Regions from separate parts of the Homo sapiens genome. Here region 2 is linked to region 1. Evidence: promoter capture Hi-C in human tissues and cell types (Jung and others, 2019). All regions are on one chromosome and are shown on one strand. Each heading gives the region's core, a stretch centred on a gene start or on the middle of the fragment in contact. The rest is flanking DNA. Distances are from core to core; before and after follow the strand shown. Region 1 holds the start of SNX33 (sorting nexin 33). Region 2 has its middle 15 kb from the start of UBE2Q2.

The links. The method cuts DNA at HindIII sites, captures the fragments that hold promoters and counts their contacts. A contact is called where the count stands out against the background at its distance.
Region 2: a fragment that was not itself captured here is called in contact with the fragment with the promoter of SNX33 in region 1 in 2 of the 25 tissues and cell types used here (IMR-90 fibroblasts and lymphoblastoid cells).

The regions. Positions count from the first base shown.
Region 1 is chr15:75,644,909-75,649,808 of GRCh38, reverse strand. It overlaps SNX33 (sorting nexin 33), which reads right to left and starts at 1,897. Exons shown (of 2, transcript NM_153271.2): 1 at 1-1,897. The coding sequence starts at 706. RefSeq lists an enhancer at 1,422-2,113 and a silencer at 1,739-2,278. The HindIII fragment of the contact is 33,754 bases long and covers 1-4,900 here.
Region 2 is chr15:75,826,437-75,830,745 of GRCh38, reverse strand. No RefSeq gene overlaps it. Among named protein-coding and RNA genes, the nearest start is that of UBE2Q2, 15 kb to the left of the region's middle. The HindIII fragment of the contact is 5,487 bases long and covers 1-4,309 here.

The sequences.
Region 1 (4,900 bases), core at 648-3,147:
CCTCCACAGAGCAGGCAAATGGGTGGGGATTGGCCTTCCACTGGGGGCCACGAGGGCCCATTTCAATGGAGTATGTCTCAGCGATCTTGGCCATCATGGGCACATCACCCAGGATGAAGGCCTCCACTCCAGAACGCACAAAGCATGAGAAACGGTTGAGGTTACGGCCCACCACACTGCCTCGCTTGGCAGATGCCAGGCTGTCCTGCCGCTCCAGTGGTGGCTTGGGCCGGAAGGCCATGTGCTGGCTGGGGTAGGCACCAGGGTAGGAGAGGTTGAGGGGAGGGTGCCCGTTGGTGCCCAGCCCACCAGCCCGTGGCTCCTCCACCACTGTGCATCCGTCGTCCCAGTCATCCCAGTCATCATCATCATCCTCCTCAAAGCTACCCTGGTTTGAGAGGAAGCCACTGCCCCCACCACTCCTAGCTGGGCTGGCCACACTGGGGCTGTTGTACAAGCTCACCTGGGCTCCGGGAGAGCCTGCAGGGCTGCTGGAGTAGTCAGCATGGTTGGTGCTGATGCCAGAACGGACGATCTCCACATAAGAGGCAGGAAAGAGCCCTGTCTCCCCACGGCTGTTCTGGCCCTGCAGCCAGCCATCCAGTGAGGTCTCGCTAAAGATGACCAGGTCCTCATCCTGCTGGATGCTGATTTCCTCCTTGTTCTCACTGTGAAAGTCATAGAGGGCTCGGCCTTTCAGTGCCATGGCTGGGCTGGGTGGTATAGAAAGATGGGAAGGAGAGGGTCCTGCCCAGACCGGGGATGCTCACAAGGCAGTCCAAGAATGCACTCGCAGCTGAATGGCGCTTACACAGTTCAATCTCTCAGGTCCTAAGGTGGGGTCTCAGCACCCACAGATGCTGTCCAGTCTCCCCCTCTTCAAAGCAATGTCCATGGCCCAGAAACTGCCCTATCAGGTCTCCGGGCATATGCTTGTGAGCAGGGAGGGCTCATGTCCACAGTCTCCTCCTCCCTTAGCAGCCTCTGGGGGGTTAGAGGGGAATCTCTCCTAACTCCTACTCCCAGAAGAAAAGTCAAGTGACCTGGAGAAATCTGCCCTGCGAGGGGAAAAATTCGACACTTTCCACTGGAACAACGTTCTAAAATAGAAGAGACTCACTCTGAAACCACCATTCCAGAAACCCGGGCAGGGCTCGGCTGTCCCTCTGGCTCCCAGATTCTTTTGGCGGCTCTCGCTTTGGGAGGCTCTCACATTCCTCTGCAGATCTGCCCCTTCCTCCTTCCTCCTCTTGCTCCTGGGCCACTGGGTTTTCAAAAATCCGGAAAATCCAAGAGGGGCAAGGAGAAAAGCAGCAGCCGCCTGAATCGAGTCCAAGGGTGGATGTGTCCGGCTTCACAACGAGCCAGGCCGGGAAAACAAGGACTGAGGCTTACACAACAGGCCGCCAACTCTTCGACCCCGGCTGCGCAGCCGGAGCCCCCGCCGGCTCGGGCGCCCTCTCCCCGCCCCAGAAGTGGCCAGCCCCAACCCCGGAGGAAGGAGGGGGCGCGACGAGGCTGTCGGGCGACTTCTAGCCACTCGCTGAGTGGTCTCTTTTGTTTGCCTAATTCCTCAGCAGTTTCTGAGCCTGACGCTGACCCTGCTCTGAATCCCAGGAACCCCGTCCAAAGGTAACCCCAGCAGAAACCGGTTCCTCACCCGGGACTTACGACCCCCGATCACCACCCTCGCGTGCACGCACACACTCAACAGTTTGGAGTTTGGAGAGTGAGCTCCGGCGAGCAGATGGCGCGGCCAGCCGTCTGTCCGTCCGTCCTCCTCTCCGCCCTGCGGGGCCCGGCCAGTGGGGGGCGGGCTGCGCCCCCAGCCTGCCTTCCCCGGCGCTCGCAGACCCTCCGCTCCGCCAGCGAGAAGGCAGCTCCAAAACAAAAAGGCGATTCCGGGAGGTGGCGTCCTGAGGAAGGAGGGGATCGCCAAAGGGGAGGTGAGGGGTGGGGAGAGGGAGGAGGGAGGGGGAAGCAGGCTGGAGAATCGGGCAAACTCCGCTGCACTTCCGTGCGTCCCGGCGGGGCAGGGACGGCCAGCTCCGCCCTCCCGCGGGCCCGGGGCGCTGCAGCCGAGCCCCCGCCTACTCCTCCGCGCGGCTTCCCAGCTGGCCAGCGCCCTCGCTCGCTGGCGCTCAGTCCGGGAGGCGAGAGGGAGGAAACGACCCGGGAACGAGGGGGCCCGAGAGCCTCCGGGGCTGGTCCCTGGGACCGCCACCTCCCCTCCTCTCCCTCCGCCTGTCCGCCCTCGCCGGGAGACACCTCACGCCCCCGTGGTTGGAGCGCCCGGCGGGGGAGCTTGCCAGCTGCCGCTGCCTCGCTTCCTGGACTCCGTCATCCTCCTGCCTTTTCCGTGACGCAAATGGAGTAAAACTCCGAAAGTTTGCAAAGCGTGGGGCTGCAAGGAGCACCGCGCCAGAGCCAGGATCGGGAGATCGGGGTGGGGGGAGGGGGGTGCGTGGAAAGCCGCCGCGCCAGCTGGGGTTGGGGAGCAGAGTCGCGGACTCGCCTTCCCACCTTCCCATTCCCCACTCCTGCTCCGCAGGGACGGGTCGTGGCGCAGCTCAGAGATTGTTTTCCGGAGGAACAGAAACGGCCTGCGCGTTCCAGGCGTCTGACCTAAGATACCGAGAGCTGCGGGTGCAGCACCCTAGCCAGACAGGGCGACCCTGCCCTGGGCGACTAGCTTGGAAGGAGGGAAAGACACTACTCTACATCTGCAGCGACAGGGAACAAGTCTAGGTGCCACCCGGTTCCGTGTTGCTTAGTACAGCAGCGGGGACTGGATGTTCTGTGCTAGCCAGCGGCAGCAAGGAGAGAAGTGGTCAGGTAGAGAATCTTCGAGAAGAGGCAAGTGGGATCTGACCCTCGGTCAGCATATCGGGAACACTTTGGGCATTGATTCTGCTAGGCACTGTGCTGGGCACTGGGGAGTAGTACACCACAAGGCAGTCGGGGTTTCTATCCTGGGGGGCTTACAGTCCACCCTCTCTTGTCTTTAATCAATCCATTCTGTCTCAGTCATTCATTCAGCCAAGTCATGCACTCAAGAAACATTAACTGAGTACCTACTCTGCACCAGGCCCCTGAGCTACAAAGACAAATAAGACATTATCCTTATTTTCCAAAAGCTCAGATATGTTGTGACAAGTAGACAAATGCTCCCTGCCCAGTGTGACTAGTTAGTGCCATGAAAAGTGCACATGAGGGTACCTACCCCAGCCTGGGTAGAGCAAGGATCAAGGAAAGCTTCCTGAAGGAGGAAGTGCCTAAGATGAGGCAAAGGCTTCAGGAGGACTCCCTTTCCTGGCTATACCCTGGAGTCTTGTCTACCCTGTCTAGCTAGATCTTCCCTTCATTCTCTCCCTAGTCACTTATTGCAGATTAACTGGTACAAGGTAGTTCTGCTAAAGATGGATACCTTTGGCTGTTTTGAGGGACATGGTTCCCAGACCTCTGGCTCCAAAACCCAGTTTCACTGGTTCAGTGAGTGGATCCGACTCCCTTCGCAGGTCTGGCATTTGACCAGAATAAAGGCCTATGTACAAACCCCAGAAGGCTAGGTATCAATTTGCACAGAGAAATAAAACTGTCAAGCAGAACTGAATTTCTGCATCAATAGATCAAGGCAGTTTGGGCTACCCCTTGGGAAGCCCAGTTACCAGAAAGTTAGCTCAGTGAGTCTGGAACCCCCAAGAGGGGAAAGGGTATGAGGAGTCTCTCAGTCAAGTAACCTTAAAACCTTGCTTCCTGTCATGGGGCAGCCTTCATTCTAAAGACAGTTCGTCCTAGCATCTCTAAGACAGAATATACGTTTTCCCCACGTGCTTTTAGGACCCCCCCCTTCCCTGTGATCTATCTTCTGTCCACATAGCCTTTCTCCAAACTGAGTTTAACAATAGCATCAGGGCTGGGTGCAGTGGCTCACACCTGTAATCCCAGCACTTTGGGAGGCCAAGGCAGGTGGATTACTTGAGCTCAGGAGTTCGAGACCAGCTTGGCCAACATGGCGAAACCCCATCTCTACTAAAAATACAAAAAATTAGCTGGGCGTGATGGCGCATGCCTGTAATCCCAGCTACTCAGGAGGCTGAGGTAGAAGAATTGCTTGAACCCAGGAGGCAGAGGTTGCAGTGAGCCGAGATTGTGCCACTGCACTCTAGCCTGGTGATAGAGCAAGACTCCAATCTCAAAAAAAAAAAAAAAAAGATAGCATCAGCCAGGTGAGGTGGCCAGGAGTGAGAGGCTGCAGTGAGCCAAGATGGTGCCATTGTATATGTCATTATACTCCAGCCTGGGGGACAGATCGAGACGCTGTCTCACAAAAAAAAAAAAAAAGCAAAAAAAAGCATCTACTTCCTTAGTGCTTGCTGAGTGATGGACACTACAGTAAACGCTTTACCTTTATTAGTTTACTTAATACAATTGGGATTTCTGTTCACCCAATAGGGTCCCCCTCCAGCCCAACCTCCCCGAGGCGTCCTCAGCCACCACCCTTGACAGACTTTAGTTGGTTCCCAAACACTCAGTCACACATTTACAGACCAGCCATTTTGGATTTACTCCCACATGTGTTCTAGACGGGTTTTTTTGTAACTCTCAGGAGCCACCCTTATTTCCAGGTTCTTGGGAGGAACTCACTCCTCAGCCTCACTGAGATTTCCAGAACCTGTATCTTCCCATTCCCTCCCCTCCAGGGACCTTCTTCAGTCCTAGGGGAAACAGGCCATGTTAGCAGTCTCAGGAAACTGCACTAACCCTTGTGATCTCCCTATACCCTGCCCATTCCTATGGAAACAGTCCCTTTAGTCAAGTCTCACATTATTCTTTTTTTCTTTTCTGTTTTTTTTTTTTTTTTTTTTGAGACAGGGTCTCACTCTGTTGCCCAGGCTGG
Region 2 (4,309 bases), core at 812-3,311, 180 kb before region 1:
AGGTGTACATTATTTTGCTCACTGAAATAAATATGCTTATTTTCTTGATTTATCTCTTTTCTTGTGGGCCTAGCCTCTCTCCCTAAATGGATTTCTCCATTCCCATGGCTTTGGTCACCATCTCGGTGACCTGACCCCTAAATTTTTTTTTTGGTTTTTTTTTTGAGATGGAGTTTCACTCTTTCACCCAGGCTGGACTGAAGTGGCACGATCTTGGCTCACTGAAACCTCCACCTCCCCAGTTCAAGCAATTATCCTGCCTCAGCCCCCCGAGTAGCTGGGACTACAGGCACCCACCAACACACCTGGCTAATTTTTATATTTTTAGTAGAGACGGGGTTTTGCCATGTTGGCCAGTCTGGTCTCAAACTCCTGACCTCAGGTGATCCACCCACCTTGGCCTCCCAAAGTGCTGGGATTACAGGTGTGAGCCACCACGCCTGGCCAACCTGACTCCTACATTTCTATTTCTAAAGCAGATCTCTTTTCTGCACTGTAAGTCCTACACATCCAACTGCCTTCTCTGATCTTCTCCTCTTTGTCTCCCAGGTCCCTCAATCTTAACATGTCCAATCTTGGTCTCTTTTTGAGGCTTTGACTCCTGCAGTATTCCCTAGCTCCAGGAATGCACCCCCATTTCCCCCGTCTTATGCCAACACTGATGGTTACTCTTGGTCCCTCCTCTCTTGCTCATTTCTCACATTCACTGAGTACCAAGTTCCTTCTAAATGCTTGTGGATGTCTTCATTTCTCCCCATCTCCACTAGCCCTGCTCTGGTCCAAGCCACCATCCTCTCTTACCTGAGATGTTGGAGGAGCCCCCTAAGTCACTGCCTGCATTCACTTTTGCTCCCACTAGTGAAATCTTCTCAGTGATCTTTTTAAAATCTGGTCAGCCAGGTGCGGTGGCTCATGCCTGTAATCCTAGTGCTTTGGGAGGCCGAGGCAGGTGGATCACCTGAGGTCAGGAGTTCAAGACCAGCCTGGTCAACATGGCGAAATCCCATCCCTATTAAAAATACGAAATTAGCCAGGTGTGATGCCATATAGATGTAATCCCAGCTACTTGGGAGGCTGAGGCAGGAGAATTGCTTGTACCTGGGAGGAGGAGTTTGCAGTAAGCTGAAATCGCGCCATTGCACTGCAGCCTGGGCAACAAGAGCAAAACTCAATCTCAAAAAAAAAAAAGAAAAAGAAAAATCTGGTCATAACACTTCCATATTTAAAAACCCTCCAGTGGTTTCCCTCCACTCTCAGGATAAAGTCCAGAATCCTGACCACAGCTTGCCAGGCTCTGAATGGTCTGACTCTGCTTCCCAACCCATTGTATCCCCCAGACCATTTATACACTAGGCCACAGGTTTATTTTCAGTTATTTGAAAGCTTTATCTCTTTCCTGCCTTTGTATTAGGCTGGTGCAAAAGTAATGACAGTTTTTGCCATAATACATCTCCTTCCCTCTACCTCAATTTCACTTCCCATCTCCCAGACCCTTCACCTCACTATCTTCTACTCATCCTTCAAGTCTCAGCTTAAATGTCATTTCCTCAGAGAAGCCTTCCTGGATCTCACCACCATCATTGCCACTTGGGCTAGGTAAGGCATGTTTTTATAAGCTCTAATAGTGCCGTCTAATTCTTCTTGGCATTCATCATCTTTGTAATTGTTTATTTGCATAATTTGTTTAATGTGTCTTCTCATTACATTTAAGCCCCGTGAGGACAATGTTGGTCTTGTTCACTTCTACTATCTAGCTAGCATACCTCACAGTGCCAGGCACGTAACAGTGCCCAACAAATATTTGGTGAATGAACGAATGAGTGAGAAAAGATAATTACTTTGAGAGGCAGCATAGCATGGTAGAAGTCACATTGGAGTAGCAGCCACAGACCTGGGTTCTAACCCTGGTTTCATTTCCTGGGTAATCTTCAGCCGTAATACATTTCATTACGCTTCAGGGTCCTAGTCTTTAAAACAAAGGAATAATGGTCTCTGAGATTTCTTCAGTTTCCAAAATGCAATGAGTGTTACTTTTAGTGATGACCCAGTGACCGCATGAAAAGGTGTTTGTATGTTGACTCCAGTTCTGGAAGGGAGAGCAATACCTTTCCCCAGGCTCTCTGATTCGCCTTTCCCACATCCTCCCCATCTCACCACTTTTGGTTTGATTACGAAGTAGATATCCCTGTCATTACTATCAAACTTACAGTTGACCGATGTGTTTGGGAGATTAAGAAATGAAAGAAGTTGGCCAGGCGCGGTGGTTCACGCCTATAATCCCAGCACTTTGGGAGGCTGAGGTAGGTGGATCACTTGAGGTCAGGAGTTTAAGACCAGCCTGACCAACATGGTGAAACCCCATCTCTACTAAAAATACAAAATTAGCTGGGCATGGTGGCGTATGCCTGTAATCCCAGTTACCTGGGAGGCTGAAGCAGGGGAATTGCTTGAACCAGGGAGACGGAGGTTGCAGTGAACCAAGATTGCACCATTGCACACCAACCTAGGTGACAAGAGTGAAACTCCGTCTAAAATATAAATAAACAAATAAATAAAAACAAGAAATGAGAGAAGTTAAGGTGTGTCAAGCTTCCAGAAAAGACAGATAGCTTCCCCTCTCAGGCTTGAGAATTATAGGGTCAATTTAATGCAAGTCTCTGGAATGTTTCCCATCCTCATATGCTCTTGTGATGCTTCTATTGGGGAAAAGCCTGTTCAGATAGGAGCAGGGAATGGTGCTGAGGGCAGAAGCTGTCATGAATCCTCAGTTCACTCACTCACCATGGGCCCTGGGATGGGTTGGGGCTCGCTTGCATGTGGGTGTGTCAGGCATTCTGGGAATCCATGTCAAACAAAATCACTTCTCTACAACAGGAAGGTCTGAATCACAAGGCACTGACAAGTCGTTTAGTTTCCTCACCCTGCTCCCTTGAACTCTCCCATCCCCACTCCCCAACTCACCCCAGGGATCAGTGTACCTCCTATGCAAGTGGTGCCAGCTCCAGCCAGAAAGAGCTAGGTCCTAATACCTGCCACCCCCAGCACGCTCCCCTGGGCTACTCTTAGTCACAGACCATGCAGTTCGGGGTCTTAAAGGTCTTCTTCAAGACAGCACAATTATATTTAGAAGAACTGCAAAAAGCATTTGCCCCCAGAAATCCTGTGGCCCCATTGGATAACAATACTACCTATTCGAATGATGCCAGCAAGGACTCTCTTCTCACATTCAGGAAGGTAAGGAGGAAAAGTGTCAAAAAGATCACCCTGCAGACAAAAATATCACATTCCCACAAAATCTGAGCTGTAATGAGCTTCTTCAGAGAATTATACTTAATTGGTCACTTTTCTAAGGTGGAATGACTTGCCAGTTTGCTCAGCCTAGGGCAGACTAGCTGCGTAAGATTGTGTGCATTATTCAAGCAGAGAGTACCTGGTCTGGGGAGCTGAGAGCCAGCCCACACTGTATTTTTTCAAGCCATGTGTTTTGGGGACTGTGTCCTTCCACAGGCCAGGCCTTTTTCTAATTTGCACAAAGGTGTTATGTGAGCTATTGGTTGCTCTGGCCTAGGCCTCCAAATCTGGAAGGGATAATGACCATGTAAGGAAGAAGCACGGGTTCATATCATGCCTTGGGTCCTCTCCTTATTTTCACCTCCTGAAAAATGTTATCTTATTTCTCCAAAATAATGTCAGGTCATTTATTCAGTAAACACGGATTGTTCGTCTTGTCTGTGCCGGACAGGGTACTATGTTAGGAGGCTATATCAGAAAACATTTCCCAAGAGAAATTCAGAAGGCAGATTAGGATAATTCAAGGAGGAGATTTATGAACAAAATAACAATTTATAAAGGCGAAGCTGTTGGGGGAATAGTGTAGTGAGAGCTGGTAGCAACCAAGCTCTTATCATCCCTAGGCTTGAAGACTCGAGGGGAGGGAGTGATTACTGAAATCAGTTGGAATAAGAGAATGACGGAGAGCAATGTTGCTCAGAGTGCAATTTGCACACCTGTGCAGGTCTTGCAGGTCTCTGCACACTGTTGACAGTCTATGATAAGATATGTACGGCAATTGAAAGGAGATGTTTAGAAATTTTCATAACAATTCAACATTGCCGTAACATCAAAGTGTGTGATTAGCGTCAGAAAATGTAGTTTGGAGTTTAGGCTTTGTGTAGGAATGTGTCCAGGTAAAGCAGCTTAAATGACAGGGAAACATTCTGGGATACTTACTCAGATTGAGAAGCTTGCACCAGGGCTGGGCGCAGTAGCTCATGCCTGTAATCCCAACACTTTGGAGGCTGGGAGGCTG